Regions from separate parts of the Homo sapiens genome. Here all the other regions are linked to region 1. Evidence: promoter capture Hi-C in 16 types of primary human blood cells and fetal thymus (Javierre and others, 2016). All regions are on one chromosome and are shown on one strand. The core of a region is centred on a gene start or on the middle of the fragment in contact, and the rest is flanking DNA. Distances in the headings are between cores, read along the strand shown.

Region 1 (7,591 bases), core at 1,370-3,869:
GAGGGACCACCTTGCTGGGAGGAGCTTGCAGTCCTGCCTGCCTGGGCAGGAGCTCAGGGAACACCTGACTCCCTTTTAAAGTCATAAAATCATATTTGAATATGAAATCTTCTGTTTTTTTAAATGTTGGAAACAAATTTGGACCATGTTGGCGATTGACTCACCTGTGCTTGTCACCACCTCTGAGGATGGCGTGGATGTTATCTGGTCACCAGAAGGAAAGCCAAGCACAGGGAAGGCTGGGGGCTGAGCCAGGACATGTCCTGGGTAGGGAAGGGAGGAGCTGGGCTGGCCAGCACCCCCACAGGCTGAGACTGCCACCGATTCACGAGTCCACGGGGCCCAGGAGTCTGGGTCTACGTGGAAGTTGTCAAGGGCCCAGACTCCAAGCAAGGCCAGGCCAAGCAGGCCTCTCAGGAAGATGCCGCACAGTGCCTGGAGCCCGGCTGGCAGCTTCTTTTCCTGGCAGTGTCGTGTCCTGTCACCAGCCGTCAGAGCGCCCTCCGACCAGGGCGCGTGTTAGAGCAGGGACTGGAAGTTGTGAATGAATGACTAAATGCTTTCCTAGAGGCTGACCGAAATTTGTGATTAGCTAGGATGTCCATTTCCAAGGCACAGCATGTGCTGTGACTGTCTAGGGGTGGCGTCCCCATGCAGCTTGTGCTTTGGGAGGGGCCAGCTGCCTCCTCGCCACTGCCCAGCATAGCTTGTCCCCGTGCCCGCCAAAGAGGTCCTCGTGCTGGCCTCACAACAGAAGACGGCCACAGCCCTGCTCTCCCCAGGCCACCACGTCCACGAGTGCTGCACTGTGAGGGTGCAGCCCAGCGCCTCAGAGGCAGCAGCACCTGTGAGATGGCGTGCAGATGGAAGTAGGCCAATAGACTCCAAAGGAAGCACCACTGAAAAATCAGAGGCGTCTCTCAGAGGGGGCCCACGAGGGAGGTGGTATGAAAGGTTTTTAAAAGGACAAAGCAGACTTCGGAGCTGCCTCTAGAGGAGAGCAGCAGGTGAGTTCCGAGTTCACCTGGCACGCTTTTCGGCAGAGCCCAGGAATGCCCACTTCTGAGCGCTGAGTGCACAACCCAGCTCGGGAGGCCTGCGGCAGCAGGAATGGGGAGGCACCGTGAGTCCCTCAAAGCGCTGCTGGAAATGTCACTCTGCGCGGTGTCCACCCGTGCTCGGGGTGGGCAGCGCCACTGAATGACGCGGGCAGCTTGGGAGGCCGGTTCGCGAACGCCGCAGCAGCCTCTGCTGACACGGGGGCTGCTCCCCACTCACAGAGCCACAGGTTCCTGTGGGTTCATTTATGAGGATGTAGGAATCATAGGAGTTAGGTACATCTTTTCCTGAGGTGAGAGCCAGATGAGGGGAGCCAAGACAGAGAATAGCCCACGTCTGCCCTGGGCCCCGGGGGCGGGGCCTACACAGGCTCCCAGGAGTGTGGGTGGGGCCTGTTTAAACTTCATGCCCCGGGACCTGCCTGGGAGCCTCCTGCACAAGACTCGCCCCACTCCGGAGGCTTAGCAGCACCGGAGCTGCTCTGTGGCCTGTTGGCAGAGAGGAGTCTGGTGCTCCTGTGCACGGGGGTCACAGCAAAGCCAAGTGGCCGTAGCACCTTTAACACTGGCCCCGGGTCTCTACACCTCCCTGCCGGCCGTCAGCTCCTGGCCGCAGCCGGCACTGACCTGGAGCACCTTAAGGAGCCCCTCTGCAAGTCCCTGTGCATCTGAGAGGTCAGAGAGGCAGAAACACAGTTCCAGGGTTCAAACCTAATATGCCTCAGCATTCTGGGCACTCACATGGTGTGCTGGGCCTGTCCTGCCACATGGCCCCTGCGTGAGGAAGACAGAGCCTGGGCGTGGCCCCACATCCCTGTGAGCTGCCCATGGGCCTGGACCCTGGCTCTGGCAGACTAGGCTGCATAGCAGATCAGCTTCTCCTGAGCCATTTTCATCCAGGCCACACCTGCCAGCTTGGGCCAGGGACAGGCAGACCCTGGGCCCAGGGTCTTGAGCTTGACCCGCAGGAGGTCTGGGCCTTATGCCCTGGGGAGAGGAGAGCGCAGAAAGCCAGTGTCACGGCAGCCCCAGGGGAACAGGCCCCAGGCCTGGCGGGGTCTGGATCTCAGTTCCACAGGGGAAGCTGTGGCCGCAGGCATGGTAACCTCACCAAACAAAAAGCTGCCCATCTTTCAGAATATGAGCAAGAAGTTTGTGAGTCCTTGATCACCAGAGGGGCAACGTGGGGCCCGAGATGACAAGGAGTCCAGGCCACCCACAGTAGCTCCTCCTTCAGCCTTACAGAGGGGCTGCCTGGTCTGCTTTCCTGGCCGTGGGTTGCCCCTCTCTGGGGGCCGATGTCAGCAGACCTGTGGGGGATACAAACAGAAGGAACCTTGGACCCCTTCCTGGTACCTCCTTACTCATCTGATTCAAACCCTCCCAATTCTGCCTCCAAAGTGGACCCTGACTCTCCCCAGTCCTTACCGTCCAGTCTCCAAGACCAGTCCACCCAGGGAGCGGCCAGAAGACAGCCCACCTGCGCCAGGCCTGTGTGTGCCTTTCCTGGCATCTGGAATGGGGTTTGGTGCTTGCTGCCTGTAGCCAGGCCTGCTGGTCATGCCTTCCTGCCCTGCTGGGCCTCATCTCCGTGACAACGTCTTGGCCTTCCTGCCATCCTTTGTAAGTGCTGCCTGGTCTGGGATCACGTGTGCCGGCTCCTCTGCTTGCAGTACTTGGCTGCACTTCCCAGTATATTCGTTAAAATGTTGTGACATGAGAATTAGCATATGACACGTACGTAACGTGAGCTGCGGAGCATAGCTTTCTCATGAACAGCCGTGACCCCAGGACCAGGCTAAGCGAGATGACCCATGCTGCCGTGGGTGCTTCCTCTTCTTTACCGTGATCCTGCATTTTGTTTTCTCATCTCTTCTCTTTAAAATAATTTTATTTTATTACACATGATTGCTTGTTTCTGAACTCTTAGAAAGTGACATCAGTCCCTACATAGACTTCCCAAACCTGTTCTGTTTAGTCACACACAAGGTGTCTTAGGTTGGTATGTGTTTCTGGGCAGAGCTGCAGTTTGTGTGCCTGGCTGCATAGTGTTCCAGTGTGTGAATAGGCATCATTTATTTGTTTTTCCAGCAGGGTCATGCGGCTCGCTTGCCATTGTGAGTGATGCTTCCGTGGACATTCCTGTGTGTTTCTTTTGGTGCACACATGAGGTGTTTTTGGTTTAAGGAAGTGGAATTGCTGCATCATAAAGTCTGTGAAAGGTGAACTTTCAGGAACTTTCAGGACCATGTCAGTTTTTGTTTCAAAGCGCGGGTACCAATTCCCATCCCCCAGCAGCGTGTTAGCGCCACGGATGATCTACAGTCCACCAACATTCTGAATGTTTGCCAATGCAGTGAATGTAAATAACGTTTCACTGTGGTCTGTATCTCCCGTTCCACATGCTCTTGTGCTGTGACTTTGATGCACCTCCCGCCAGGGAGGGGATCGTGACCCTCCCTTTAATCTGGGCAGGCATGTGCCTCCAGCGGAAATGATGTTATGTGACATCTGTGTGCAAGCCACAGGCAGCAGCACAGCGCTGCAGAGCTCCCAGGATGCTGGCTCTTGGAGCCTAGGGATGGCGCTGTGAGAACAGGCCACGGCGCCCTAGCTTCAGGTTATAGGGCATGGCTACGTGCCTGTGGAAATTCTCCTGCGGGCGGTTTCATGTCGAAGGCCTACCTGTAGCCCTGGGTTGTCTGCCTCTTGGGGGTAGCGGCTGTGTGGAATGCCTGCGTTCTGGATTTGGCTGGCTGCCTCCTCTGGCATGGTGCAGAGCCCACCTGCAACCCCATATTTGCCCTGGTAGGTCTGAGGTGCGATTCCACTCAGATTTATTTTTCCTGTGAGGCGAGCGAGCTTCCTAGGTGGCACTGCACGTTGCACCGCATGGCATGATGAGGCGTGTGGTCTGGCCGCTCCTTCACTGGTGCTGAGACTGAGGATTGAGCTTAGGGGGTCAGCCTGATCCGCCACTGCTGGGTTCCCCACCAGCCTTGCAGCTTGCTGTCAATATTCATTGATGGTCATTGCCTGGATGCAGTACACATTAGGGGCTGCAGAACGGTGATTTTCTAATTGTGTTGTTCTTTCTGTACTTATTAGTTGGGATTCATCTATGTGGAATAACGTTTGCCTCATCCACTAGGGCTGTTTGGTTACCTAAACTATGGTTCATGCCAGAAAGGCAGGATAGATGCTTCATTCTTTGCACTCAGTTGTTCTCACTGCGATGAGTTGGTTTCTGGAAGCCCCAGTGTTGTCCTGTGAATTTGTGTCTTTCCCTGCTTTTCTCTCCCTGTGAAGCATCATTGTTAACTGGTGGATGTTATACACACAGTGGAGTTTGGCCAGTGCAGCTGCCATTTCTTTACTCAAACTGTTCTGTAGTTTTTGGGCTCCCCTCGCTTTCTGATGTAACCACATCAGTCTTGGATGGCTTTATTGCCTTCTGTCGTATGTGTTCCCACCTTACCTTTTATATTTTCTTCCACAGACCACCTGGAATCAAACTCTTTTGGGAGACCTGTTTTTGTTCTAATAATAATAATAATAATACTATTTGGGAAGTAGTATTTAGAGACCACAGCGTGAGTATTAGGAGTGCTTATTGCAATTGGGTTGTCATTGATTTTTTATAATTTAGTGAACAGAAATAAGAAATGTTTGTAATTTTAAAAGAAGAGAAAATTAAGATAAATATTTTTAAATCATATTTAAGATTACATTATTTTAACTTAAAAATTTAAAACTTATACTAGTTTTTCTTTTCTCTCATCATTACCATGATTACTTATTTGTTTTAGCCTAAGTAAATATATAACAGGTTTGGAGAATAATACCAATATTATGATTAATGACTAAATTTAGAGCAATATATTTCTTTGCACTTTTTTCTGTCTGTATAATATATTCCCTTGAGGATATGCAGTCAGATTCCTGTGTTTTAAGGTCAGTGCCTACAGTCCTTCTCTCTGTGGTTATAGCTTCAACTGAAATTCCTGCATTTGATTATGTAAAATACAAACATTTACATGATTCTAAAGTCAAAATTATTGCAAGGGCTATTCACAAAAGTCTCACTTTCCTCCCTTTCTCTCCATTCAGTTCCCTTCCTTCTCCTGTAAGTAGCTTTTAAGTTTTTTAATCTTTCCATTTTTTCTTTTCGAAAACATGAACAAATGTGTGCATACATGAATTCTTCAACTTAGTAAACTTTTCCTCCATGTTCATATTTCTTTTCACTTTTAGGAAGGTTTGTATTTTTTTTCTTGGCTTTATATTATCACTCTCTATATAATTCACATAAACCCCTCTTTTTACATAATTTCTATTGACTTACTGTTATAAGCAGTATTAAAATTAGCCAGAAGTCTCTTCTTCCTCCTCTCCCACTCCTAATTTTTGTTTGTTCTCCCACCTCTTCCTCCCATTTCATTAGTGTATTAACTTTATTTTAAGCACATTTAATGGTTACATATTATCCTGTCACCCTTAACTCCATCATTTAGTCCTAGTTCAGTAGTTAAATGTGTTTGACACTTACCACCATACCTTATGACAAAGCTTCTCCAATTATTTCGTGGTTGGCCCAACCCCATTTTATATTATGTTCTTCAGGATGGGCTCATCAGAAAAATATTTCCTGTGTTCTTGTGGAGTCATATCTTTTTATCTGTAGCCTTCACAGGAGAAAGGTAATTTGGCTTCATAAAATCCTTGGTTCACATTTTTCTCTTTAGTATCTTAAATATGTTGCTTTACGCCATGGTGATTCTGACTGTGTATAGGCCTACGCTAATGTGTGTGTTTATGTCTTAGTGTTGTTGTTGTTGTTTTTGAGATGGAGTCTCTCTCACTTTGTTGCCCAGGCTGGAGGGCAGTGGTACGAACTCGGCTCACTGCAGCCTCCGCTTCCCAGGTTCAAGCAGTTCTCCTGCCTCAGCCTCCCGAGTAGCTGGGATTGCAGGCGCCCGCCACCACACCTGGCTAATTTTTGTACTTTCAGTAGAGACGGGGTTTCACCATGTTGGTCAGCCTGGTCTCAAACTCCTGACCTCAAGTGATCCACCTGCCTCGGCCTCCCAAAGTGCTGGGATTACAGACATGAGCCACCACGCCTACCCCTGTGTCTTAGTTTTCAACCAAAAGTTTAAAAATAAAAGTATAACAATTTTAAGAATAGAAAGAAGCTTATAAAATAAAGATATAAAGAAAATATTTTGTGGTGCTGTACAATTTGTGTGTGTGTGTTTTAAGCTAAGTACTATAAAAAAATTTAAAAGTTTATAGAGTAAAAATGTTACAGTAGGCTGGGCACGGTGGCTCACTCCTGTAATCCCAGCACTTTGGGAGGCCGAGGTGGGCAGATCACAAGGTCAGGAGATCAAGACCATCGTGGCTAACATGGTGAAACCCTGTCTCTACTAAAAAAAAATTTTAAAAAATTAGCCAGGCATGGTGGCGGGCGCCTGTAGTCCCAGCTACTCAGGAGGCTGAGGCAGGAGAATGGTGTGAACCCGGGAGGCGGAGCTCGCAGTGAGCTGAGATTGCGCCACTGCACTCCAGCCTGGGTGACAGAGCGGGACCCTGTCTCAAAAAAAAAAAAAAAAAAAAGTTACAGTAAACTAATTTAATTTATTGAAGAAAGAAAAATATTTTCATAAAATTAGGATAACTTAAGTGTACAGTATCTCTAAAGTCTACAGTAGTCATCCTGTCCCAAGCCTTCATATTTACTCACCACTCACTCATGGACTCACCAGAGCAACTTCCAGTCCTGTGAGCTCCATTCATAATAAGTGCCCTAGACAGGTGTGCCATTTTATTATCGGCTCACTGCAGCCTTGACCTCCTGAGCTCAAGTGGTCTTCCCACCTTAGCTTCCTGAATAGCTGGCATGTGCCACCATGCCTGGCTAATTTTAAATTTTTTTGTAGCGCTGAGGTCTCCCTACATTCCCTAGGCTGGTCTCAAACTCCTAGGCTCAGCTGATCCTCCTGCCTCAGCTTTCCAAAGTGCTGGGATTACAGATGTGAGCCACTGCACCCGGCCTTTTAAAATCTCTTATACCATATTTCACTGTACCTTTTCTATGTTGTTTAGGTATGTTTAGATACACAAATACATAGAACTGTGTCACAGTTGCCTACAGTATTCAGTACAGTCATGTGTTGTGTACCGCTTTGTAGCCTAGGAGCAATAGGCTATACCATCTAGCCTGGGTGTGTCAGCTCTCTCACCTAGGTTTGGGTAAGTATATTCTACGATATTTGCACAGTGATGAAATCACCTAAAAGTGCATTTCTCAGAACGTATTCTCGTCATTAACGCAGGACTGTGTGTCTCCCCACGCTCTTGGAAGATGCAGCAGGAATCGCGGTTGTATGTATGTTGGATCTCTTTTGCCTGTCTTTTTGTCTGTCATGTTCTCCTGAACCTTTTTTACCTCTCTTTCTGTTTAATTATTTTCATTCTCTTCTTTCTGTTTTATTCCTGTGCCTTCTGTGATGTCTCCTTACTCTTACATT
Region 2 (4,157 bases), core at 1,658-4,157, 380 kb before region 1:
GAGGAGGCCGGCGTCTGGACAGGAAGAGGGCTGGATGAACCGCAGCCGATGTGTCCAGGTGCCACCTGGGCCTGGAGCTCCCTGAGCATTTTAGCGCATTTAGTCCTCAGCACGGTCCCGAGATACCCTGCCATGCCCCGAGTCACAGAGGGGAAACTGAGGCGTGGGGCAGTGGCGTGACTCACCCCAGGGAGCCGAGATTCCCGCTCAGGTGTGGCTGCATCGACCTTGCTCCGGTCACTAAGCTGCACGGTTCGATGCGCTTCCTGGGAGCCCCAGCGTGCTCGGGCCAAGGGTGCTGCCGCGTGGGCAGTGCAGAGACCCTACCAGCGTGGGGACCAGGGAGGTCTGCAGGGCCCGTCCTGAGAGGGAGCCTTTCATGTCCCCCTCCCCATCCTGAAGCACACAGCCTCCCTGCCACAGTGGGGGCCGCTTCTGGGCCCAGGGGACGTTGCCCCATCACCGTGTGGCCTGGCCTTGTTGCTGGCTGGACAGTTGGGGGCAGGAAGAGGAGGGAAAGGGGGACTCTTTAACCTCCTGGGGGCAGGGGCAGCCCAGAAAGGACCCCAGCAGATCCCTCCTCTGTGTCCGGGAGTAGACGGGGCCCCTGAGCTGTGCCTGCCCCATTCAGATTCTGCTTGCTATGTGCACCTGGCAGCCTTGGCCCAGAGGCCCTATCCCCGCAGGGTGAGGTGCTCTGTCCTCCTCTGCTGTCCTCCCCATAGTGCCGAGGGGAAGCAGCCTTGCTGTTTGCTCTTTGGGCTTTGGGACAGGGTTGGTGGGGGTTAGCAGCTGTGCCGGACCTGGAGGTGGGGGTGCCTGCAGTGGAAATTCTGGTGGACGCCCACCCACCAGGCTCCGTGAGGGATGACGAGCTTGGTGATTCCCCTTGAGTTTCAGGCCAGTGACCGTTTCTCTCAGCAAAGCCCAGAGCCTCTGCAGACCCTGTGTGGGGCCTGGGGAGTGGCCGGGGGGCCACAGACAGGGCAGGGACAAGTGCTGACAACAGGTGGTCCCAGGAGTAAAGCCCACGTGGGCTGGAATGGAGGGGCAGGGAGGGAGGGAGGGAGGGAGGGCTGCAGCGGGGCCTGGCTGAGCCTGAGGGGGGCACAGGAACTGCGCTGGGGGGGCCTGGTGTGTGCAGGAGTGGGGGCCCTTGTGGATGCGCCCCAGAAGCATAGGGCTGGAGCTCTCCGAGGCAGGGGCCGTGCCCGCGGCTGTTGGCATCTCGTAGGGCTGGAGCTCTCCCAGGCAGGGACCGTGCCCACGGCTGTTGGCATCTCGTAGGGCTGGAGCTCTCTGAGGCAGGGGCCGTGCCCACGGCTGTTGGCATCTCATAGGGCTGGAGCTCTCTGAGGCAGGGGCTGTGCCCGCGAATGTTGGCATCTCAGGGCTTAGATGTCACCCCCAGGGCAGCTGGCACTGCCACAAGCAGCCAGATTCCTGGGTCCCACTCATCCTCCGTCCCTGGAACACCCAAATGCCCAGCAAGCACCAGCCGCCTTGCAGGCAACCCCCCCGGAGCCACACCCCACCTGGCTACTGTTCCCCACCAAGCATGTGGGTAGGGCAGCCTTGCAGGAGCCGTACTGACTGGAGGGACCCGGGTCCGGTGTCCTGGAGCCCCGGGAGGCTCCAGCACAGCCCACCTTGTCCTCCACTGCAAGCCCACGGAGGCAGACAGGACAGCGGTGGGCTGGGAGGGCTGCAGCCTGTGGGAGGGGAAACGCCAGGCCTGCACACCTGACCCTGCCCTAGCCCTGCCAGCCCGAGACTGTCTGGGATCAGCTGAGCACTGTGAGCAAGCTTCAGCCTCAGGGAAGGTGCCGGTCTCCTGGGAGTTGGGGCACAGCTGCATGGCTTGGGGGCTGGGGTCCGAGTGGGGCTGTGAGGGCGAGGAATTTCTGCAACTGCAGCTGGCCCGGTCGGTGGCACAGCCTGATGGGGACTTTTCACTGAACATCTGGACAGCTTGGTAGCGTCCCCGTGCGAGGGAGGCCGTGTCCCGTGCAGGGTCCTGGGGGACTCCATCAGCGTTCCTGGCCTGCATTGCCTCTGGCCAGGGGTGGGCCTCAAGCTTTATCAAGGAGCCCCTTCCCAGGTGTGGCCTGGCCGGGAGGGTCCTGCCCCCTCTTCTGGCCTCTCAGCTCCTCCCCAGCCCAGGCTCCTCTTGGGTTAGCCCCAACTCCTGCCGGACCCCTATGTTGGGCTGGACACTCCCAGCCCTGGGTGAGGGGCAGGAGGAGGAGGGGGAGCCCAGCCTGACCCCTCGGGCAGACTTCGAGGCCCCGAAAGTGGGGGTGCTGGGCTGTGATCCGGGCACCAGAACAGAGCCCTCGAGGCCCACAGAGGTCCCTGGCTGCATCTCCAGGGATCAGGGAGTATGTGCCCCTGAGGGGAGGGGAGCTGGAGGGGTCCTGCTGCCTCCTGCCCGGCTCCATCTCCAGCGCCCCCTCCACCTCGTCCTGGGCACTGCCCTGTGTGTCCACCCCGCCGGCCCACCTCGAGGAGAGTGTGGGGGACAGTGCAGCCGTGCTGGGGCGTGGGGGGCGCTCAAAGGGAGGGTGAACCCTGTGGTCAGCACACAAGCAGGGACCCTGTGGAGGGTTTTGCTGTGTTGTGGGCTTGTCCCTCAGGTCCACGAGGAAGGGAGTGAGGCCCCCTCACACGGGAGGGCCGGGGTGGGGTAGGGAGGCTCCCTTGCTGCAGCTGCCAAGAGTGAGCGAGCGGGGCTTGGGCTTGGGCTGCCCGGGACACTGCCTCCAGGAAGCCCCCTGGGCTGTCTCAGTGGGACTCTGTGAGTGACACATGGAGCTCAGGTCACAAGGGCTGTGGGAGTGTCACCCCACAACAGCAACGGGTGCCTGGCCCTCTGGACTTTGCTCTCTACACCCCTCCTGAGCTCTCACAAACCCTGGCCCCTGGGACCGGAGGCAGGTGATGTTTCCAAGGAGTCCTACAGGCAAGCATCCTCTGACCTGGGAGCTGCGTATTGTTCCCGTTTACAGGTGAGAAACTGAGGCCTAGGAAGGACAGACACGTGTGCGTGCCGCAAGTGTGGCTAGCAAGGAGGGAGCCTGGAGGAGGGCCCAGCAGCCTGGCCCCAGAGCGCTCTTCAGCATCGCAGCAGATGCAGGACAAGCAAGCTCCCAGCCGGGGAGCACCAGGAGACCAGCAGGCATCCACCCTCGTGGTGCAGGCCATCTGATGAGGGCAGGGACCAGTGCCGGGATGGATAGTGCCTGTGCACAGAGTGGGGCGCAACTGGGCACAGCTGCCACCGGGGTGCTCGGGAGGCAGGTCCACACACACGCCGGCCAAGTCGCTCATCTCAAATGCACGAGTCCCGTGATCTTGGAAAGTGGTGCACAGGCCCCTGGGCTGGGGCTTCCTCTGCCTCCACCCCCATCACTGGACATTCGGAGGTCAGTGGGAGGCCACGGGAGTGCACGTGAAGGTCATGTCACCATGATGGCCCCGAGGGGCTGCTCCTTCATCGCTCCTCCCTACCCCATGGGCCAGCCACTGGCACACAGGTGTCCTTATATGGTGCTTACCTCTTGCTCCTTTAGTCAAATGCAGAATTTGAGAAAATGTCCCTTCTCCTTAAAATGCTTTGATTTGTTTGATGTTTCCATGTAACTTTGGTTTAAGAAGGGAGAAGACCACTCTGGGAAATAACTCATGCTTATCTCTCACCGCTTGGCAACCTACAAATATTTTTTCGATGATGCTGGCTAAGCTTCTCGTAAATTCTCCATGCCTCTTAGATGCACCAAGAGTGACTCAGCATTTAACTCCTACTGGAGTGTCAAGGGCCCAGTGCATTGGGTGCAGTTGTCTGTGGGTACAAGATCTTGTGTGATTCTGAACTAAGCACAGACAGAATGAAAAGCACAGCACTCCAAACAGGGCTTCCTGCAGGTCCTTTTACGTATATTTGGGTTTTTGTATATATCTAAGGTCAAGCTAGTGGACATCTATCACTTCAACCAGTTACCGTTGTGAGTGTGGTGAGAAAACTTAAGATCTACTCAAGTTTGAAGTGCCATATGCGATACAGTATTCTAGCTGTAATCACCATGTGTACATTAGACCTCTAGAACTTACTTTTCCTGCATAACTGAAACTTTGTACCCTTCGACCAACAGTCACAT
Region 3 (7,591 bases), core at 3,687-6,186, 290 kb before region 1:
ACATGCCTATTCCAGAAGCTGCTCCCCGCCCACCCACAGGCGGCCGCCCGGCACCCCGGCACCCACGTGCCTATTCCAGAAGCTGCTCCCCGCCCACCCACAGGCAGCCGCCCTGGCACCCAGCGCCCACGTGCCTATTCCAGAAGCTGCTCCCTGCCCACCCACTGGCGGCCGCCCCCGCATCCCGGCGCCCACGTGCCTATTCCAGACGCTGCTCCCCGCCCACCCACCCACAGGCGGCCGCCCGGCACCCCGGCACCCACATGCCTGCTCCCGCGTGAAGTTCTTGTCGGGCCCCAGGAGGTAGGGGGTGATGAAGCTCTCCCCTGGCCGTATCTGCGCCATGAAGCCGTAGAAGCAAAGGTAGCACACGAGGTGCCGCCAGGACCGGAGCTCGGGGTCAGGCCCAGGTTCCACGGGCACCTGCTTCTCCACCGCTGGGCTGGAGGGCACCATCCTGCTCAGGCCACGTGCAGCTCCGGAGGGGACGAAGGTGACGCTGTGCCTGGAAGGAGGGGTGGAGTCAGGGCACCTTGGAAGATGGTCTGCAGGCCTCCCTACCCCGCAAAACGAGGCCCAGTGCCGGCCTCCTCGCCACTCAGGACCAAACGCCACCCTGGAGACGAATGCAGACCCCAGACCCATCCTCACCCCGTAGCACCAAACTGGGAGCCACCCACACCTGAGCTGCTCCGGAGTCCCCCAGGCCAGGCTGTCACCACCTCCAGGGTCTCCGAGGCTGAGGGAAGTCTCCAGCCACATGGAGTGATTTAAGTGCCAATCAAAACCAAGTTAATTAACTAATTGACTTACTTTATTAACTAAACTAACAAAATTTAGGGTTTGGGGCCACACTAGACTCATGGCACTGCTGGGCAGTACCTGTGGCGGTCAGGGGGCACACCTCACCCCACAGGCCTGAGGGCAGCCCACGTGCCTGCTGCTGCTCTAGCGGCACCCAGGTGGCCCAGGGAGGGCACAGGCAGGAACGGACGCTGCTGGAGGCCGGGGTCACACCACAGGTGGCCAGCGGCGGGTGGCTGCAGGTACCAGCCTCAGGTCCCCATCAGCCGCGTGCCCTGGCAGGAGGGCGTGCAGGCCAAGCCCACAGTGAGGGAAGGGCAGAGGGAAAAGCAGGTGTCCTTGAGGGGGCTGAGAGCAGCCAGGGTTGAAACACGCGTGGGAGGGAGGATGGGATGGAGCCGAGGCCCAGCCCCTGAGCCCAGGGACCCCAGCATCCCCGGCGGCAGGTTACCCTAGACGAAAGCAGCTGGCAGGAGCCATGAGTGGACCTGACACGTTCCAGATGGAGCACCCCAGACCACAGGACTTCATCCACGAGGCAACATGCACCCAACCTTGGGGACCATCCCGCCAGCACCCCCGCCCCACACGGCCAGGGCACGTGGTGGAGCAGCAGCAGCACGAAGCACACTCGAGGGCGTGTCTCTTTCAGTCCTGATTCTGCCCAGGAGAAAGGCTCCTCCGGTGCGGGCAAGGGCACGTCTCACCACCACAAATCGTGCCTTTCAGCTGCGGGGCAAAAGCCTGTCCACTTATCAGAATCATGTCTCCAGGTGCCACGTGGCCCTGGTTTTCCATTAAGGCCTCGGTGTAAAGTTCTCCTTCAAGTAAGTCAAAAGTGAACTGCCATAAACAAGTGTGTCAGACGCCCACACCAAGCCAACCCCGTGAGGCCAGGACCTGGCCCTGGTCCCCCACAGGTGCACCTCACGTCTGTATCAGCTGACCTCTGCTCCCGGAGGCCAGGCCTGGCAGAGTGCACGTGGAAAGGCCATCTGCTGCTCAGGTGGGGTGGGGATGCAGCGCATGCAGAGGGCAGCTGAGCAGCCTTGTGGGGCGGGGTCGCCGTCCCATCTGCACTGGGCTGACAGTTGGACAATTGTGCCTCGCCACAGGGCCGGCTTGGGAGGGTGGCAGGGGGTCTGCAGAGGGTCTGGATTTGAGAAGTCTCCTCCAACCCTCCAGCAGGGGCTCAGAGCATCCCTCGATGTGGGGCCAGCTTTGGGGGTCCAGGGACCCCTAGGAAAATCTGCCCCAGGCTCTCAGCATTCAGTCTTCACGTATCAGAGACCACTCAGGCTGGAAGTGCTCCCTGAACCGCCCCCAACCTGACACACAGGCTTAGGAAAAAGGTGGCCTTCAGGGACCAGAGAGAGAGACCCTCCCCAGGCCACTTAGGCAAAGCCATCAGCATCATCTGGGGTCCCGTCTTGACACCTCTACACACTCATGTCTGTGACAAAGGAACATAGGTGATGGCAGGGAAGCCCTTAAGAGGCAGAGGCTGGTGGGCTTGCAATGGGGGCCGCAGGGAAGAGGGGGAAGGGTTAGGGGAACCTCGAGGTTTCCGGAGCTCCACGGCAGGGCACAGCTGGGAAGAAGATGGGACCAGCACCCTCCATTGGAGGCAGCCAGGACCCTAGAAGTTCTCAAAGGGCCAGGATGAAAACAGCCGGCCAGGCAGGAGGAAGCGCAGGCAGGGGCCACTGCCAGGCCGAGGCAGATCTGACGGTCGCCTGCCTCGGCCTCACCTTCCATGCCTCCTCAGGGCCTGTCAACAGCTGGGAAGATCAGTGCACAAAGGTTGGGCTCCATCACCAGGGACCCTGATGCCCAGAGAGGCCACGGGTAGAGCTGGACATACCTCAGACCGCACCCACTCCTCCCCACTGGGAGACCCATTTGGCCCTGGGACTCCCTGTCAAGTTCACTTTCCCACCTGTCAGCAGGTTTAGACAGGCGCACCGATCCCCAGACAACCAGAGCAACCAGATCGCCGCAGACAACGGGGAGCCATCAGGAGCTGAACTAAGCCCAGGGTCTGCGCCCACAGTCCATGGCCGCAGGAGTCAGATCCCCACCCACAGGACCCCCAGGGGCCCGGGAGCCCTGGGTACTTGGGCCCCCTGTTCTGAAAGGTGCCACCTCCAGAAGCGACCAGAACATTCCTTCCTTGGAGAGACAGCCAGAGTCTCCGCCAGCAAGGGGCTGCTGCTGGTCTTAACAGTCAGCCTCTGCTGCCAGCATACTCAACTTATGTGCCGTGAACGTAGCCCACTGACAGAGGCTTGGCCATCACGGCCCAGACCACCTCCAAGAGGAAAGATAGGGAACTTGGTCACCATCATAGAAACGCAGCCCCAAGCCAGGGGACGCCTAGACTCCAAGTGTCCAGACCCCAGCCCAGTCCCATACAGCTTGAGGCCTCTTCCCGGCATCTGAAGGAAGTCCCCGACCAGACAGGAGGGCCACGGGGAAGCAGAGAGAATCCCTGCCTTCAGGAGAAGGTTGTAACAGCCCCTGCAAATCCCCGGCCCCACTGTCCACAGTGACCAGCCCCACCCAGGCCCTGTCCTTCCAAGCACCAGAGAAGGCCAGAGACCCGCAATCAAAACACAAGCAAACGCCACCTATCATTCCGTGTTTAAACCAGCTCCTACTCTGGAAGGCTAACCAAGAATGTTCGTTATGTTTTTTAGAACGCCTGCTAGTTTAAAAAGAAGAAGAAGAAAGCATTGCACACCCTCCCACCCCTGTTCAGATGACCAAGTTCAGGGTTCCTAACAGCATAATTAGACCCTCCGGCTATCACTGCTGCAGGCCCAAACACCCGAGAAGCACTCTTTCTCATCTGTGTCCAGCAGAGATAACTGTACTATCTGGAATTATAAAAATCCACCAAAGCCCCTTCGGAAAGAAAGCAATTAGCAATTGCAACAAGCAGTGCACAGGTGGCACCCAGGCAAAGGCGGCCAGTGAGATGCAGCCTGGCTCCCAGGCCTGGACAGGGCAGGCAGGTGCACTGGGCCAGAGGCACCTCGGCTCTGCTGATTGAATCTGGGCTGTGCGGGGATCCTCGGGTCTCCGTAGGGGGAGGCCACCTCTTTACAGGGCGGCCAACAGGCGCCTCCAAGGACTTTATCCCACCTTCCCTCTGGATGCATTCTGGATTTCGGGGCCAGCTTAGTTGGCCTGTGTCCTGAGGCCAGGCAGGCCAGACTCCCCAGGACAGGAGTTTCCGATGGACAGGACCCTAGGGGGATGGCTTTCCTGCTGTAGCGGTGTTGGAAGGACCCACTCGGGAAAGGCTCCAGCGGCTGTCCAGGCTCTCTCTGAGACGCCTCGGGATTGCTCCGCTGGATCCGCACCCACAGCTGCTCCAAGGGGAAGTTGCACCTACAAAGCTTCTGGCACAGGAGACAATGGTCTGGAGATGTGCCAGGGGCCCGCCCCACGCGTGGCTGGCAGGGTTCACCCACCGGCTGGCCCGTCCCGAAGCAACACGTGCCTGGGCGCGAACGCCGGATCCACGCTTTCCTCCAGACCCGGGGGTGGGACTTGGCGCCCCAGGATGACGCGGAGGGCAGGCTGGGGGCCGGGACTCCCCACCCCATTCGCAGGCTGCGGCGGAAAGCGAGCGGCGGGAAACCCGCTGCACAGCAACGGTTCTGCCAGGCGCCCGGGCCACCGCGACCCCCGCGGAGACCCCGGCCCACGCCCCGCACCCTCCCCAGGGCCCCCCAGACCCCAGGCTGCAGACCGCAGACCCCGGCCACGCCCCGCACCCTCCCCAGGGCCCCCCAGACCCCAGGCTGCAGACCGCAGACCCCGGCCCACGCCCCGCACCCTCCCCAGGGCCCCGCGGACCCCAGGCTGCAGACCGCAGACCCCGGCCCACGCCCCGCACCCTCCCCAGGGCCCCGCGGACCCCAGCGCCAGCCCCCACACTCACCTCACAGGGCCCTGCAAACCTCGGCCCGCGCCCCGCACTCACCCCAGGGCCCCGAGACACCCCGCAGCCCCCGACACGCGGCCCCGTGGCCCCGTTCCCCACCGGTACCTGCGACTCGGCGGGGCGGCTGCCCTGGGGCTCCCGGACCCGGCCCCGCGCACGCGGACTCCGGGACTACAGCGCCCACAAGGCGGCGCGGCGGGCGCGCGGCTGCGGGGTGGGCGGGTCCGTCCCGCCGAACGCGTCCTGAGGGCGGGGCCTCGCGCGTGGCCGGGCGCTGCGGCAGGAGCGTCCCCACGGGGCACCCTCCCACCCACGGCCGTCTCCCAGCCCCGGCGCCGGCCTCTCCCCACCCGGTCACCGCCGGGGTCACGCGGCCCCTCGTGCTGCGGCCCTACCCCTGGGGCCGCCCCCTGACCCCGACCGCCCCTCGGGCCCCCACCCCCGCCGGCGTCAGCATCCTGGGGTGCCACTCGCGGAGGTGTCGGTCCCTCGGGCGGGCACCCTGCCATCCCTCTCCCCCGCGTTCTTCCCACCCCCGGTCCCCTCCTGACCCCCCCTCCTCGACGAGGCCTTGTGCGTTTTCCTTTTGGCACCCTGGAACACCTGCATTCCTGGCCGCAAGCTGGATCCGGGACGCGGGTCGGGCCCACGCGCCCTCAGGGGTGGCCCTGGGCCGCCTTCGTGGGGCTCCAACAGGGACACGCACAGCCTGCTCTTGGGGACCGCACGGCCCCGAACTCGGCGCCCCCGGGACCCCGCCGCCCGCCCTCCTGCCTGACCGTGACCCGTACGGGCTTGTACCAAGGAGCAAGCCGGATCCAGGACGTGGCCCGGGGCCACCAGTCCCCATCCCAGCAGGGACAGCCCGGGGGAGACCCGCGCAGGCCTCGCAGACGGCAGCGCAGTCACACTCAGGAAGGGGGGCCTGGGCCACTCTCCCAGGAAGGCGTGGGGCTGCGGCAGACAGCACCGCCGAAAGCCCAAGGCCTGTGCAGGACACGGGGAGAAGTGGGGGGCCTCAGGGTCACTTTCCCCTGGAGTTACCCAGGGCCTGGCTATGGGGAGGGAAGCCAAGCCGAGGGCTGTGGGGGCCCCAAGGCTAAGGAGGAGCCAGGAAGTCCACTGCACAGAACAGAAGGGGACGGCCACCGTGGTACCCACAGCTCAAGAGTGCGGGTCCCAGGCGAGGGGTGAGTCTGGGGCAGCAGCCCCTGGAATGTACCCCTTCCGGAGTGTAGACAGCACAATCCGCGACCTGCCTCCTGGTGTTGCGGGGGTGCTCTTGGTCTCCCGCCCACCAGCAGGGCAACCCCACCAGGAAGCCAACACAGGGCCCTTGCCCTAAATGGCCGCCTGCCCAAAGCTCTGGCCTGGGCCTTCTTTCCAGAGTCCTGAGTGTAGCAAGCCACACGAACAAATCTCAAAGGAACTTAAAAAGGATTTGTTGGCTGGAAATGGGGGATCTGGGGTAGCTTGCAGAATTTAAGGGAACACTACAGGATGGAGCGCCTCACCTGGAGGGACCCCCTGCTTTGTGGGAGCCCTGGCTCTCTCCCCTGTACTGGCCTTCTCCACGGGTGGGCAGAACCTGGCCCTGCTGGAAGACAGGAGGGGCAACGCGGAGGAGGAGGGGCCCTTCCTTCCCTCCAGGCAGAGAGGAGCCAGCCATGGGGCCAGCTCGCCAGGGCAGCCTGCTCCCTTTACACGCAGGACAGGCCAGGAAGCCGAGGGGAAGTGGGGATGAACAGCAGCGGGGCTCCTAGACCCCTTCCCACAGAAGGATGGCTCCCACCCCCTTCCCGCCTGGAGACAGCAAGGCAGGGAGCCACAGCCCCAAGGGGACCCCGCAGGACCCACAAAGACCAGTCCCTCACCTGTCTCTCCGGTCAGGTGTAGCCGAGCGAATCCGCCCCCGGCCGCGAGGGGCCTGCCCAAGCTGCCCTCGGGTCCCCCTGCGTGGCAGGAGTCCTGGGAGTTCCCCAGCCACACAAGGCCCAGGTTTCCTGCAGGAGCTGCTTCGGAGTGGGGAGGTAGGGCTTCTGCCACCAACAGCACTTGGCAGTTGTAATCTAGAGGCAGCTGCTCTGAGGGAAGAGCCAGGAGACTCGTGAAGAACTTACAGAAACCTCCATTGAGGACTGCGAGGAGTGGCCACAGACAGTGGGGCGTGGGCTTCCAGAGGGCTCCACCCAAAATAGAGATTTACAAACGCAGGTGACTTGGGAGTGACACTGGCATCTGGGAATGGATCCTGTGCTTGGGCCCTCACGAGCCTCCAGCGGTCCCCGTCCTTGCGTGTTTCATTATCGGTTTGTCAAATAGTTAAGTGCCTGAGCGTCAGGGATGGCAGGGAGAGCTGGTCCCTGGGAGAAGCCCTGGGTTGGAGGGATCAGCAGGGGCCCAGCAGTGTGGATCCCGGCCCTCCAGCCTGTAGGCTCCAGCCATATACAGTGATGTCTGGGGGCTGCAGGCCGCAGAGACCCCTTCCCCTCCTGGAGGGGCTCAGGTGGGCTCTGCAGCCCACCCCACAGCAGTGCCCCATCCCCAGCTCCTGGGCCCCCACTCCCCGGCAGCCTTAGCACCCATAGTCCAGGCCCAAGAAATCTCTGCCAGAGAATGAGGACCCTGCCCACCCACTGCCTTCTGAGACCAACCGGCCAGTCCTCTGCCTTGGCTGGAGAGACGCAGGGCTGTCCCTGTGGTTAAGGTCCCCGTCAGCATAGGGAGGCAGTGGCATTCGAGCAGCCCTTTCCCTCAGCTGGTGCTGTTGTGGTGGCTGTGGCTCTGGAAGCAAGGCTTGGACCAAATGCTAATACATGGACACACATGCAC
Region 4 (5,842 bases), core at 3,096-5,595, 280 kb before region 1:
GACAGAACAGGACGTTGTCAAGCGCTCTGTGGCTGATCTGTCTCTGTTGCACCAAAGTATTTTAAATGTTCTCTCACGTCCTCTGGAAGATCTTGGATGGGGAGAGAGGCGGGGTGGAGGGTGGCATGGGAGTCCTGTGGCCGGGGCTTCCTGGGGGCCCTGCACAGCAACCGGCCTGCACGTGTCTCCTGGGACGGCGACTCAGATGCATGTGTCACCTGGGACGGCACCTCAGACGCATGTGTCTCCTGGGACGGCGACTCAGATGCATGTGTCTCCTGGGACGGCGCCTCAGAGGCCTGGCTACTCCGAGAGGCCTCTGGACACCATGTAACCTCCCCTGGGCTCAGCCCTGGCCTGGCCAGTGCCCTGGTACCAGGACTTGGGCACCAGCCACTGCCTCCCCACGTGTCAGCTCCTTGCACAATGGCACCCGCTGCATGGAGCTGCCCAGGACTCAGGAAGAACGGAGCTGGAGGCTGGGCCCTGGGGCTGCTGAAGCCCTGGCAGCAGGAAGGGATTTGAGATAGAGAACCCGAGGCCAGAGCACTGGGGCTCAGACAGCGGCCCGGGAGATGGGTCTTCCCTATCAGTGGAGACAGACCTTGGCCTCGTGACACCCTGGAGTCCCCGGCTTTGACCCCGTAGCCCGTGCCACATTCTCCTGAGGCTTCTCGTCTGCTCTGGGTGAACCAGGTGCTGGCCTGTGCCTTGTGGCCCCAGCCTGGCCCTGAGCCCCGGGTCCTGCACACCTTGCTGGTAGTCTCTGTCACAGAGACGGTTGGGCCCGGAGGCTGCTGGCATGTGAGTGTCCGCCTGGAGTGTCCTGCTCCAGCCACAGCCCTGCAGTGGTTCATGGCCAGAGCAGAGGAGCGAGGGCTGGGGGTTTGTGCAGTGACCAGGACCAGGGTGCAGGGGCCCAAACCAAGGCCACTCACTGCCCTGAATTGAGCAGAAGGGATGCTCTGAGGCTCCCGGGGAGCCTCAACCCTCCACCACACTCAGACAGTGTGCCTCTCTTGGACCGTGTCCTGCGCTCTGGTGACTCTCGGGGATGCTAGTGAGGAGCTTGTCCCGGCTCAGGCTGAGCCCTCTGCTCAACTAACAGCACAGACGCAGCCCAGACAGTTGCGGAGGGGAAGCAGGTGTGGGGGTGGCCGTGCCCTCGGCACTCGGACTTGGCCTCCTGAGCCCAGTGGCGTGGGGAGTGATAGTGTGATGCTCACCTTTGCCTCCTGCGTGTCTGACGGAATCATTCCTGTTTAGACATGAGCTCCATTCTTCGGAGGGCATGACCAGGAGGCCACCTATTTGGGGATATTTTTAGAGTCATGCCATCCAAGGCAGTCTGTGCCGAGTGGCTCCATATTCAGACAGCGGCGGCATCGTCTCCAAGCCTGGGCTCAGTGGTTAGCACGTCCCGTGCTGACGAGAGACTGGAGGCGGCTTCTGAAAACCCTTCGGGGCCAAGGCTCTCTAGTCGGACTCCACACGGCTGGTGACAGATCAGGCCAGACAAGTGCATGACACCCACCATCCAAGACGACAGGCTGAGACCCCCCAAGTCCAGGTGGGCCACGGCTGGCTGGACCTCAGCTGGGACTCGGACATGCTGGCTCTGCAGCCTGGCCCCAGGGTGTGGGCCTGCAGCTCTGGCTGCTGAGAAATCCCCAGTGGGCCCTTCAATCTTTGAAGGATTCGCCCCATTGTCACTGCAGTGAGACCCCCTGAGAACCCGGGAAGGCAGTGGTGCCGCAGAAGGGGTGCTGGCCGGCGAGCCTTGGGGATCTTCCCAGGGATGCAGCAGGTGGGGCTGTGACCAGGCTGCAGAGGGTGTTTCTTCTTCGTATGTGGCCAGTGTGACTTGAGTTCAGCCCCAGAAATAAATGTGTGAGAGGACTGCGTTTGGTTTGAGCGAGGGCAGGCACAGGTAGGGAGCGGAGCTGCTACAGGAAGCCCTGCGGCTGGGAATCTGAGGGAGTCGGGGCAGCCTTGTTGCCAGGGCAGGACAGAGTACGGCCACCTGGTTGCTTGGAACAAGGTGGAGCTGTGTTCCAATTTCTCAGCACACAGGGAAACACATTTCAGTTAAATTGAATTTTCTTTTTCTTTTTTCTTTTTTTTTTTTTTGAGGTGGAGTCTGGCTAGGTCCCCAGGCTGGAGTGCAATGCTGCAATCTCAGCTGACTACAACCTCTGCCTCCCAGGTTCAAGCGATTCTCCTGCCTCAGCCTCCCAAGTAGCTGGGATTACAGGTGCACACCACCACGCCCAGCTAATTTTTGTATTTTTAGTAGAGACGGGGTTTCACCATGTTGGCCAGGATGGTCTCGATCTCTTGACCTCGTGATCCATCCACCTCAGCCATCCAAAGTGCTGGGATTACAGGCATGAGCCACCGTGCCTGGCCTAAATTGAATTTTCATGTGGAAGTCAATAACTACATAAATTTGGGAATGTCAGTGGCAGAAATCACAAAGGAAAAGATGAGTAGATGTGCTTGCATCCAACCTAAAAACATCTTTAAGTCAAAAAGCACCATGAAGAACTGCCAGCCCCTCAGCTGTGTGGAAACATCGCAACGTTGAGGCCGGGTGAGTGTCGGTGTCCTGGGTCCATCAGGGAATTGCCCCCATCTGTGTATTTAGGTCGGTGAGGTGTCACCACGCACCGACAAGGAGACAAACACACACACTGAAAATGGCCAGGGGTGTGGGCGAGTCCCCCATGGGGACCAGCGGTAGGCAGCATCCTCCGGAGACCACGGGAAGGCCAGGTCTTCCAGCTCCAACTTGCAAAGATTTGCTAAGATTTATATTTTTTTCCAGTTGTTTTTCAGTCTTTATTTTATTGAGGCCCCTGCAGGTACCTGTGGATTCTGATTTGCAGCTCTGTCCAGGGAGCATCCGGCCAAACCTGGAGCCCGGGGCGTGCGGATGGACCTCTGGACGTGGGGCCACACCTGTGCGCGAGTTTTCTCACTTACTGGCTCGGAGGTGGTTCCACATCAGCACACGCAGAGCTTCCGTGTTCCTTATTAACAGCAGTGAAGAACTAGTCATTCAAATGCGCATCATTCCCTCACACAGGGTATTTTTAAGAGAAATTGCTAGACATGGAGTTTGCTGTCAAAATGGCCCCCAGTGTGACAAGCAGATTTATTTTTACTGTGACATCCATTTCTGATGATGATGGGGGCAGACAGCCCTCCACATGGGCAGTGGGCACAGCTGAACCTCAGGCAATCGGCCACAGCCCCAGAGACAGGATCCGCATGTGAACAGACCACCAGCAGGGGCCAAAACGTCGGAAATGCAGCTTACTCTGCAGAAGGCAGCACGTCACACCCCCCAGCTCCCAAAATGTAGGAAACTGGCTCGTGCCAGGTGTGGCTAGAACGTGGGCATAGGGGAGCCCTGGGGTCACTCATGGAGCATAAACCGTGCAGCCTTCCTGGGGAGCGGCCTGGCCCTGAGAGGTGGGGACGCCAGGGCCCGGCAAAGTCCTCTCCAGGATCCACCCCCCAAGGACTCCTCCCACAGCCACACAGGGCCCACACAGGGACGTGCCCACGGCTCAATGAGGCCAGCAGGAGCGGGACACTCCATGTCCATCACCTTGGGAGGGTCAGGCAAAGCGCACTGGGTGCCCACTATGGCCCCCACAGGAGCTAATCCACCATGCAGCAGGGAGGGGTCTTGGAGACGCTATGTGGGAATGGGATGTGGCACTGGCACCCCCGCTAGGGTGCCCACGGTGGCGCCCACAGGAGCTAATCCACCACGCAGCAGGGAGGGGTCTTGGAGACGCCATGTGGGAATGGGATGTGGCACTGGCACCATGGTAGGAAGCGAAATCAGAGTCCAAACAAAGAGACACACACTCCTCCAGAACAGGAGGGAAGAGACAACACCAGCAAGGACGGCCGCACACGGCGGGGCAGGGGAGCGGAGGTTGGAGTTGGGAATGAGGATTTGAAGGACCAAGAAGAGGAATGACAAAGGTGAGGTGCCTTGCGGAGTGGTGACAACAGTGGCCAAGTGCCAATGAGGAGGACGAACCCAATGCTGGGCTGAGGCCAAACAGACAAACAAGAAGAGCAGCACCCAGGCTTGGAGCTGAGGGAGGCCCGAGCCCCGGAGAATCGGCGCTGTCCTCTGAGCTGGCCTCTCTGATGCTGCTTTCTCCATGATAAAGAGGCGCTCTCACGGCTGGCGGAGGGAATGCTCATGGCCTGGCTCAGCCTCAGCTGCTGCTCTTACAACTGCTGTGGTCATTCCCTGCCCTTAGAAACGAAGCTGCTTCCCAGCCACCCATGTGCAAAGGAAGAAGGAAAGAACGAGAATAAACGACCAAGCCTAATCCACTTTCCCTGCCTTGCGAACCACAGTATTTTCTGCTGCCGTGCACTTGGAGAGAGCAAATGTCACCGAGTCTTGTTGAGAAGACAAGAGAGGCAAGAGGTCTGAACAACACCCAGCTGGGGGCAAATGCCTTCAGACAAGCACAACCAAAGTAAAACAGGAACGAGCAATGACCCTAAAAGATGTGCTAGAAATAATTGACCAAGTATAAAATAAATATTTGAGTATTCTATTGCAGTAACTTGCCATGCCATTCACTTGTAATAAATGAACCTCTTTCAAGTTAGAACATGTTGCGTTTGTGCAGCCAGGATTAAATATGGTAGGTCTGGGGCCCGGAGCGTCTCCCGGTGTTCCCACTCCTGGCCTGGTGGGTTCCAGCTGCAAGTGCTGGACTCTGCATTGGAAGTGAGGGTGAGGCCGGGCGCGGTGGCTCATGCCTGTAATCCCAGCACATTGGGAGGCTGAGGTGGGCAGATCACCTGAGGTTAGGAGTTCGAGACCAGCCTGGTCAACATGGTGAAACCCTGTCTCTACTAAAAATACAAAAATTACCCAAGTGTGGTGGCATGCACCTGTAGTCCCAGCTATTTGGGAGTTTGAGACAAGAGAATTGCTTGAACCCAGGAGGCGGAGGTTGTAGTGAGCCAAGATCATGACACTGCACTCCAGCCTTGGGGACACAGCGAGACTCCATCTCAAAAAATAAATAAATAAATAATAAATAATTAAAAAATTAAATAAAAAGTGAAGGTGGGAACCTGCACAGCAAAGAAAGATAAGACTTCCAGGCTGGGTGCAGTGGCTCACGCCTGTAATCCCAACACTTTGAGAGGCCAAGGCGGGCAGACCACAAGGTTAGGAGATCAAGACAATCCTGGCCAACATGGTGAAACCCTGTCTCTACTAAAAATACAAAAATTAGCTGGGCATGGTGGCGGGCGCCTGTAATCCCAGCTATTCAGGAGGCTGAGGCAGGAGAATCACTTGAACCCAGGAGGCGGAGTTTGTAGTGAGCTGAGATCGCGCCATTGCACTCCAGTCTGGCAACAGATCAAGACTCTGTCTCAAAAAAAAAAAAAAAAAAAGACAAATCCAGAAATGCACACTAACTCCAAAGGGTTTCCTTTTAATCTTAAGACAGTTATCAGTCAGAGAGCTCAGGCATGAACCAAAATCTATGTTTGTGGAAAATGATACACAGACAACACTCACCACACAGGTGCATCACACTGACACGACACCACACGCATTCACCACATCGGCATCGTAAAGGGAAGCCCCAGTGACTACGGAACATTTGTGACTGTCTCTGGGAAGTTTTTCAAAAGGCCAGTTCTGAAAACTTCCACTAACAGCCTGGGAGGAACAGAACCTAGACTCACTCTCCCCCATGAAACAACTGAAAAAAACAGGCAAATATGTGAAGCAAAATGTTTTCAGAGCCTGGTCTCCGGCAGCGTGGTGCAGTGCTCCCTG

What was found. The method cuts DNA at HindIII sites, captures the fragments that hold promoters and counts their contacts. A CHiCAGO score of 5 or more calls a contact.
Region 2: a contact is called between a fragment that was not itself captured here and the fragment with the promoter of PCBP3-AS1 in region 1, in 3 of 17 cell types (naive CD4 T cells, naive CD8 T cells and total CD8 T cells). The highest score is 6.3, in naive CD4 T cells.
Region 3: a contact is called between the fragment with the promoter of SLC19A1 here and the fragment with the promoter of PCBP3-AS1 in region 1, in 16 of 17 cell types (naive CD4 T cells, fetal thymus, naive CD8 T cells and 13 more). The highest score is 25.7, in naive CD4 T cells.
Region 4: a fragment that was not itself captured here is called in contact with the fragment with the promoter of PCBP3-AS1 in region 1 in 1 of 17 cell types (naive CD4 T cells); the score reaches 5.6 in naive CD4 T cells.

The regions. Positions count from the first base shown.
Region 1 is chr21:45,833,800-45,841,390 of GRCh38, forward strand. It overlaps PCBP3-AS1 (PCBP3 antisense RNA 1), which reads right to left and starts at 2,620. Exons shown (of 3, transcript NR_038876.1): 1 at 2,487-2,620. All of the region lies in intron 4 of PCBP3 (poly(rC) binding protein 3), which reads left to right. RefSeq lists enhancers at 1,726-2,233, 3,304-3,847. The HindIII fragment of the contact is 12,994 bases long and covers 1-5,625 here.
Region 2 is chr21:45,457,051-45,461,207 of GRCh38, forward strand. The region is part of intron 2 of COL18A1 (collagen type XVIII alpha 1 chain); the gene reads left to right. Among named protein-coding and RNA genes, the nearest start is that of MIR6815, 19 kb to the right of the region's middle. The HindIII fragment of the contact is 1,665 bases long and covers 2,076-3,740 here.
Region 3 is chr21:45,537,504-45,545,094 of GRCh38, forward strand. SLC19A1 (solute carrier family 19 member 1) reads right to left here and starts at 4,937. Exons shown (of 6, transcript NM_194255.4): 1 at 4,865-4,937; 2 at 268-505. The coding sequence starts at 456. RefSeq lists silencers at 4,371-4,430, 4,781-5,090, 5,131-5,210 and an enhancer at 5,065-5,577. The HindIII fragment of the contact is 3,738 bases long and covers 4,207-7,591 here.
Region 4 is chr21:45,556,698-45,562,539 of GRCh38, forward strand. It overlaps a transcript of SLC19A1 not described here. Among named protein-coding and RNA genes, the nearest start is that of SLC19A1, 17 kb to the left of the region's middle. RefSeq lists an enhancer at 3,648-4,357. The HindIII fragment of the contact is 9,158 bases long and covers 1-5,842 here.